2 separate regions of the Homo sapiens genome follow, and region 2 is linked to region 1. The links are contacts of gene promoters, found by promoter capture Hi-C in blood cells and fetal thymus (Javierre and others, 2016). All regions are on one chromosome and are shown on one strand. Each heading gives the region's core, a stretch centred on a gene start or on the middle of the fragment in contact. The rest is flanking DNA. Distances are from core to core; before and after follow the strand shown.

Region 1 (4,058 bases), core at 1,111-3,610:
ACTCCAGCCTGAGCAACAAGAGCGAAACTCCGTCTCAAAAAAAAAAAAAAGCCAAATTAAAAGTCTTGTTTTACTTGTTCTGCAGATCAACAAATCATTACTGAGATGTGAGGGAGGGAATAAGGGACTAGGTTGTTATCAAATCTTCTTTGGCCAATTCTCTAAACCCTGTATAGTCATCATTCACATGAAAAAAATACTGTTTGCTTCATTTGAGAGATTAAAAAAAGCAGCATCAAAGACTATATAATTACTAACCATTTTGTACTTTGACACTATCCTTAGGCAATAACCTATATATCTATCTCTTCTTTAAGGCTAATGTCCAGATCCCAAATAATATTTAGAATTTATGATTCTTCACTCTGCTCAGCGCTGTATCACAATGCTGAAGCAGCTAAAAACACTTTTATAGGAGGAAGTGTGTTTAGAGTCCAAAACAAGAAGTCTTAAATGTGTGCCAATCTTAGCTCTGCCATAGACTTAAATTTGATGACTTAAATCCCAATTCCTATGCTCAAATATCCACAGAAAAGGACCAACATTCACTTTTCTCAAAGGAATGTGGCCATGAGAGTGTAGTGAACTAACAAAGAGCCAAAGGAATTTATTGCAAAAAAAAAGGGGCTAAGGAAAAACATTAGACCTAGATACTTGGTAAACCCTTTGGGATTCTTCTGCATTTTGAAGTAACAATTCCCAAGAGAACAGACAGAGGTTGGGATGCCAAGACAAAGTCTTGACTTGTTTGAAATAAAAGCAAGAACAAAATTAACTCTTCAAATCAAGGTATAGATGAAAGAACAGATTCCATTCCAGGTGGTCAGGACAACAGAATTGAGAAATTTTGTTCCTAAGGAGTATCTCAGAGAAAAATGATTTTAGGGAGACTGAGAGCTCAAGGCAGTAGGGGAGGAACAAGAGTAGTCTTTTGTTTCTTGGCAAGTTGTGGTGTGTGGAATTCAAGTAGGAAAGAGGACTGGACTCAGTCTATGCGATGTCAAGCTCAGAATCTGGAGTAGACCTCCAAGATCACCTGGTTTAATTCTCTATTCTCAATCAACCTCTACTTTATTGCACCCATCATTCCTATCTGTGATGTCATCTCAACATCTGCTAGCACCAGCAAAGTATAAATTACAAACGAAACAGTTCCCTCCCTCCCATCTTAATAGATTAGGAAATAAGGGCCCAGAAGGGAGAAGTCCCTTCCTAGGCCCAAAAGGGAGAAGTAACTTCCTAAAGCCACATGATTAATGAGTTCTTCCTTGGGGATTCCAGGATCTTTTAGCACTGTTCTCAAGGACTCAAGAAAGGGTGTAAACAGGTTTATATTTATTAAGTGCCTAAGTTAGAAGCATTGTGGTAGGCACTTTCACATACATCATGTTTACACAGAGATAAAAATAATTGCAACCTTGAGTCCTGACTTTTTATTATGTAGGGTTTCTCTAAGACAAGCACAGGCTTTGGAATCAGAAAGACCAAGGTTCTACCAGTTGGGAAAGGTATTTTTCTTCTCTGAACTTGTATTCCTCCTGCATTTGGAAAGGTATAACACCACGTACTTCACAGGGTTGTTTTGAGGGTTAAAACATTATCAACCACAGGGAATGGTTCACAGAAGATACACAGTTACTGGTAACTATTGTTACCACTCCCGAGGGGACAACTATGGTAAACTGCAAGAATGTGGGAACGGAAGTTGAAACCGCCATTCACTAGCTGTGCAACACTGAGCCTGTCGGTCAGCAGGCAGTGGGAGGGGGGTTATAAAGATGGGCAAGGGACGCCGACTTGTAAACAAACACTGCCATTACAAGGTGAAGAGTGCTGTAACTGAGTTCGGTTCCCTGGACTCAAGGGCGGGAAGTGGTAACCTCAGCTTCCCTATCTGTAGACTGGGAGCATCAAATGAGATGACAACAGAGAGCCTGTATAAAGCTCAAAGCACACAACACTGCTGTTGTGAGCAAGGAGTAATGGAACAGAGGAGGGGCGTCCACCTGCCTCCTGGGACAGGGTCTGGGCGGCAACAGGGCGGGCCCGCTCGCTCCCACAGGGGGCGGTGGTGCTGGGGACCTTCCCACAGGTGCCGACCCCCAGCTGCGCCGCCGGTAACCGACAGGCCAAGCCAGCCGCCTCCGCCCCCGCTCGCCGCACCACGGCGGAAGTGGCAGCCTGAGCGGTTGGCGGGTGTCGGAAGGGGAGGGCGGGGGGAGACCGTGCGCAGCGGCCTATGGCCGTGAAGTGGCGGGACCGCCGGGGGTCTCACCTGAAGCAGGGAGGGTCCTCCAACACCAGCACGCGGCAAGAGAAAGATGGCTGCCTCAGCCGAGACAGAGAAAGACGACGGCGGCGGCGGCGGCGGCGGGAGCAGATCCACGTGATACAGCCGACCCCGCCTCTCCCTCTCCGGGGCAGCCTATCCCGGGAGCGAACATCTGAACTCCAACGCCCCGCCTGCTTTGCGCATCCCTCTTAGTGCTAGTGGCGGCAGGTGCAGGTGGCCGCGCGGCATCCTGGGGCTTGCAGTCTCCCGAGCGTTCTGTTGTGTCCCTGCCTACAATTTTAGGGAACCTAATAAAAGGGTGGTCGGTATGTTTTTATTTGGGTGTGTACTTTTGTTAGGTCGCTTTTTCGCTATGCATTAAGTACGGACTTTAGGACTCAACTAGTACCAGGAAGAAAAAGACCGGACATTTTCACCTGTTTGTTATACAGCGAAGGGGAAAAATTGGGAAGAAATCCTCAAGCTACAAGAAAAATAACCAGAAGCTTTACACTTTAGCCTGCAGTGACTTATATCCTGGTGTCCTAAGTCCACCTAAGTCAGTTTTGCAATAAGAGGTCCCAAGTTTGGTTTTCTTGGAGCTTGCATCAGTTGGTTGCATCATCCCTGAGTAGAAGATTTGCGGTTGCAAGGAAAAATAAGGTACAGAGCTTCTCCAGCGGGAAAGTGCATGTCTGCACGGCACGAGCCCACGCACCGCAGAACAGGCTTGCCAGGTCTCCTCAGAGACCCTCGCAGGAACCTAACAATGAAATCCAGTTGTCCAGTCTTGATTTGTGGAGGGGTAAGGAGAATCCGAGGCCAGTGGGCAATCCGCCCACTGTTGGGAGCGACTGACCTCACGAATCAATAATTTGCTTTTGACTAGGAAGTGCAGCGGTTCTTGGGGGGAGGGGCTGGACTGGGTGGCGGACGCGAGGAGCAACGGTTCTCCCGAACCTCTCCCCCGCCCCTACTATCTTGGCCTACATTTTCCCGCTCCGTCCCGGGACCTGGACACCCAGAATCCACGAAAAGCAACTCGCGCTCGAGAACAGCTCTCGTACCCTTCTACGTGATCTGCACCTTTAAGCTCACTCCATCCCAAACCGGACCCCGGAGGCACCACCCACATCCGTCTAACATCACTTCCTTCAGAGTTTGAAAAAAAAAAATCTGGGAAGTAGAGGTGTTGTGCTGAGCGGCGCTCGGCGAACTGTGTGGACCGTCTGCTGGGACTCCGGCCCTGCGTCCGCTCAGCCCCGTGGCCCCGCGCACCTACTGCCATGGAGACGCGGCCTCGTCTCGGGGCCACCTGTTTGCTGGGCTTCAGTTTCCTGCTCCTCGTCATCTCTTCTGATGGACATAATGGGCTTGGAAAGGGTCAGACCGCGTTCTTATCTTCTCTTTACTGATCTTTACTATACTGATCCCAGTATAATCTCTTCTTGCCCTAGCACCGTTCCCCTCCCATTCTAACTCTTAGGCCACTCCAGATTTCTTTTTATCTTCCCCAACCGCTCCTGGAGTTTGAAGATTTCTTGGGGTAGAGAGTAGCGGGTCTGGGGAATGGAGAAGTTGTACTTGAGGCCTCTCTAAATTATTGGATTGGGGGGAAGGAATGGCCCGTAAATTAAGGAAAGCATGTTAAGAGCCCAGCATAGTGCCTAGCACTTGGGAGGTCCTGAGGAACGGTCACCTTCCCACCTGGGAGAAATAGAGCCGTTGGGGACCTGCATATGCAGAGGACCCTGTTCTGGGTCTGAAGATTTCTCTCGTTACTTCT
Region 2 (4,058 bases), core at 764-3,263, 370 kb before region 1:
CAGAGCCAGGCTTTCGAGGACTGACTCCTCCAATTCCTTGGGAACATGCACCGCGTCCCCATTTCCCCCTTGTCCCAGCTTCGTGGCCTTATGGTTTGCATCAAAACTTCATGCATCAGGGAAATGCCCGATTCCAGCCCAACAAACCTTTCTATACTCAAGGTACCACTGCTTACAAATTAGTTAACAGGCTTGGGTGGGTTTTATTCTGGGATAGAGAGCCTTAGTGAAGGCCAGGATCTGGGAGTGAAAATTCATGAATTCAGTAAACATTTACTGAGAAATTATACTGTGTGTCAGATGGTGCTAGGTGCTTGTAAAACAAAATCTCCATTACTTGATGCACACTTTATTAGGAAAGCCAGACATGTTAAATAGAAAAGGAGTTTAGATGAATCAGTTAACATTGCCCTAGCAAATCCAAACAGGATGTGGATTTAAGATTATTACATCACAAGATTTTGACAGTTGAGCTAGATCTTGAAAGAGATGCAGGAATTTTTTTTTTGCCTAGAGATGAGAGAGGAGGAGGAGTATGCTTAGCTGAGGGATTAATATATGCAGTCACTGAGTTTTGCCTGGCATAATGAAAAAGAGTAGAAAATATTAGGGCTAGAGGACGGAGGTATATGGGAAAGATGGTGATAAGGCTAGAGAGGGTAGGCTTAGACCATATTATGGAGTTTGGACTTGGTTTACTGAGCATTGGGGACCTAATTAAAGGTTTTTAGTGGAACGAAGACATAATCATATTTGTTTAGTAAACGTAGGACTTGAATGACCTTAAAATTTATTATGTTCTGCTGGTGCTATTGTAGTACTAATAATGGCTTTGACTGGGTAATGAATATTACAAACAAAGAATTCCTAGAAACTTGGAGCATTTTATCTAACCTACTTGCCTCAGAGGTATTTGTTCTTATAGGCATTGTCTGAGTCTGGCCTTCAGCTCTTTGTTAACTTAGTTCAGAACACTTGGGTCAGAGTCAGTATAGTTAAACTAGGAGTTCAAGAAGTTAAAACAGGCACTCAGGAAATGCTGATTGAATGAAATGATAACTTAAAGGGGAAGTGCCTGGTATGGTCTCAGGCTTGTTATATTTAAGCCTTCTTAAACCACCCATATACTACTGGGGCATCCCTGTATTGTAGAGTGGCAGAGCCTTGACTGTGGTTGAGCTCTTCTCTTGAGCAAAGAACTGGGGCTGAAGGAAGTTACTATTAGTCATAAGCCCTTTTAGGAGGGGAGAGTCTGCAACTCTTTTCTAGTGGGTTTTTTCCCTTTGATTCCTCCTCTCCATCTTTCGTGTCCTCTCCTTTTTTCACATACAGGTATTTCCTTCCCTTCTTCATTTTTCTCCCCACCCTCTCAAATGTTTTGCAGCATGCTTTATCACCTCCTATTATATAAATAGAAAAAAAGAAAGCTAACTACAAGTTAATTCTAAGGTGTTGTCAGATAAACAGGCACAAGCCTTTCAGTTTCCTGTCTGTGTTGTATCCAACAGACAGATGTGCCACCCGTCGGTGTAGAGAGCGTTGTCCCCACCCACCAAGAGGAAACGTGTCGGAGTAATGCGAGTCCATTTTCTTTCAGCTGGTCTACCGATGCACAGCAACCAGCCAATCCTGCTGTCTCAAGGGTATCCGTACCTCAATGTCAGTTACATTCAGCAGAAAAAGTGACATTTAATGGAAAGCAAAACAAATCAGGTCCTGATTTAAAATTTTAACACGTTTAGATAGCTTATTTAAATTCTAAGACTGTTTTTACAGACTGTATTATTTGTATATAAATATGAACTATAGTTTTTACTAGTATCACCAAATTGAGTGATACAAATTTCATCTATTTTATTACCCTATTTTTAAGGGAATTTTATGTTTTGTTTAACCTTGATGAATTGTATAAAGAGAGAATTTAAAAAATTACATTCTTTATTTTCTATTAGCTGTATTCATACTTTGGTTGCTTCAGACTTTATATATTGTTCTTAAAAGTTAGGAAAGAATTTCATGTGTTTTAAATTGTCACTTCTATTCTTTACAGAACCTTGTAGTGCCAAAAACTTTTTAAAAGGTAAAAAAATAAAATAAAATTACAACATGAAGATTCAGATTTTTTTTCTTTTCCATACTTGTATATTGAACATTCAAACTTGAATGGAAAGTTGATTTTGTCTGTATTTGAAGTACTTCTATTTTAAGTTAATAAATCTTTTTGACAAGAGTTAAATTTGGTTAATCTGTTGTATAGATGATGGAAATATTACGTAACAAGATTTCTTTTAATTTCAGTGAATAGAGCATTCTAAATCACAGATTTTAGTTTTAGAGATTCAAGTAACATTTCATATCCTTTATTTGGTTGGATGTTCACAACACCCATATGAGGTTGATAGAAGCGGAAGCCATTTCCATTTTATCTTTGAAAATAAAAACTGAAATGCAAAGCAGTCAGTAAATTCCAAAAAGCAAACAATGCTGGAGTCTGAATTGAAAAGTATTTGGAAAGAGAATTTTAAAACACTGAGACTAATATTGGCAATTAGAGTGGAGGGAAGATTACTTTTTTTTTTTTTTTTTTTTGAGATAGAGTCTGTCTGTCACCCAGGCTGCAGTGCTGTAGTATGATCTCGGCTCACTGCAACCTCTGTCTTCTGGGTTTGAGCGATTCTCCTGCCTCAGCCTCCCGAGTAGCTGGGATTACAGGCATGCACCACCACACTTGGCCAATTTTTGTATTTTTAGTAGTGGCGGGGTTTCATCATGTTGGTCAGGCTGGTCTCGAATTCCTGACCTCAGGTGATCCACCTGCCTTGGCCTCCCAAAGTGCTGGGATTACAGGCGTTGAGCCACTGCACCCAGCCCAGACTGTATTCATTTTGAGTCCTATACTTCCACCTGGAAAGCACACTTGCCAAGATGATAATTATTTACCAGTAATACTTGGAATTAATTATTATTGGGTATTGGAATTCAGACTCGAGTTGTTGGTGGCATAATGTTTTAGCTGTTTTAGCAGTGAGGTGAGGTAATTTTCTCTAACCCCTTAATTAGTCCGTCCAGTTGCCTGGGATTTTAGGCTAAATGATGCTATATATCTATTTGGAAAGGTGCAGAATAAGTAGATAAAAATGTAAGGACAGTGGGTTATCTTTGCTGCGCTTCCTCTGATATACATTACTTAAATAGGAGACTGCTTGGGCCCTTGCCATATTTTGCAACATGGAAGATATTTGAAACCTATTGCAGGAGGTTGAGGGTATTCATGCTGTATTTACAGCCCTGAGTTAAATATATTTACTATTTTTTTTACCTAACCTGAGTTAGGTATATTTACTATTTTTTCTTATTAAAGCGTCAGCATCTTTCAGAATCCTATTAAGTGGTGGACTTAAATCATTTATTAACAAGATACCTGACCCAACTATGCATTCATGTTAAAATGACTTGGAGCATTCAAGATTTAAATTAACATTCAATACTTCATGTCCTTCCACATCTTGGAGAACAGGTAATGACGTATACAGGGGTGTTTATTATTCTCTTTACTTTTGTACATACAGTAGGCCCTCCATATCCATGGGTTTTGCATCTATGGATTCAACCAACCACGGATTGCAGATATTAAAAAAAACTGTGTCTGTACTGAACTTGTACAGTTTGTTATTATTCCCTAAACAATACAGTATAACAACTTTTCCCACAGAATTTCCATTGTATGAGGCATTATATGTAATCTAGAAATGATTTAAAGTATAAAGGAGGATGTGCATAGGTTATATGCAAAGACTACACTATTTTATATCAGGGACCTGAGCATCCTTGGATTTTGGTATATCTGCGGGAGGTCCTGGAACCAACCCCCCACCAGATACCAAGGGGAGGATTGTATTTGAAATATTCATTAAAAATAAAACAACTTCCAATAACAGAATGCCCCAACCCCTCAGCCTTTCTTCCTTAAGGAAGGCAGTATAAAATACCACTTGGCAAAACCTATTAACTGGCAACCTAGTAACCAACAGCCTAGGTTTTACTTATATGATAGTGTT

What was found. Contacts are between HindIII fragments. The CHiCAGO score rates a contact against its expected background, and 5 or more counts as called.
Region 2: a fragment that was not itself captured here is called in contact with the fragment with the promoter of BTF3L4 in region 1 in 1 of 17 cell types (fetal thymus); the score reaches 5.0 in fetal thymus.

The regions. Positions count from the first base shown.
Region 1 is chr1:52,054,597-52,058,654 of GRCh38, reverse strand. BTF3L4 (basic transcription factor 3 like 4) reads right to left here and starts at 2,360. Exons shown (of 6, transcript NM_152265.5): 1 at 2,276-2,360. TXNDC12 (thioredoxin domain containing 12) reads left to right here and starts at 3,464. Exons shown (of 7, transcript NM_015913.4): 1 at 3,464-3,655. The coding sequence starts at 3,559. RefSeq lists enhancers at 1,445-2,156, 2,157-2,870 and silencers at 1,936-2,175, 3,036-3,440. The HindIII fragment of the contact is 3,174 bases long and covers 1-2,780 here.
Region 2 is chr1:52,421,453-52,425,510 of GRCh38, reverse strand. TUT4 (terminal uridylyl transferase 4) reads left to right here. Exons shown (of 30, transcript NM_001009881.3): 29 at 4-162; 30 at 1,509-2,236. The coding sequence ends at 1,576. Among named protein-coding and RNA genes, the nearest start is that of PRPF38A, 19 kb to the right of the region's middle. RefSeq lists an enhancer at 1,582-1,631. The HindIII fragment of the contact is 5,285 bases long and covers 1-4,058 here.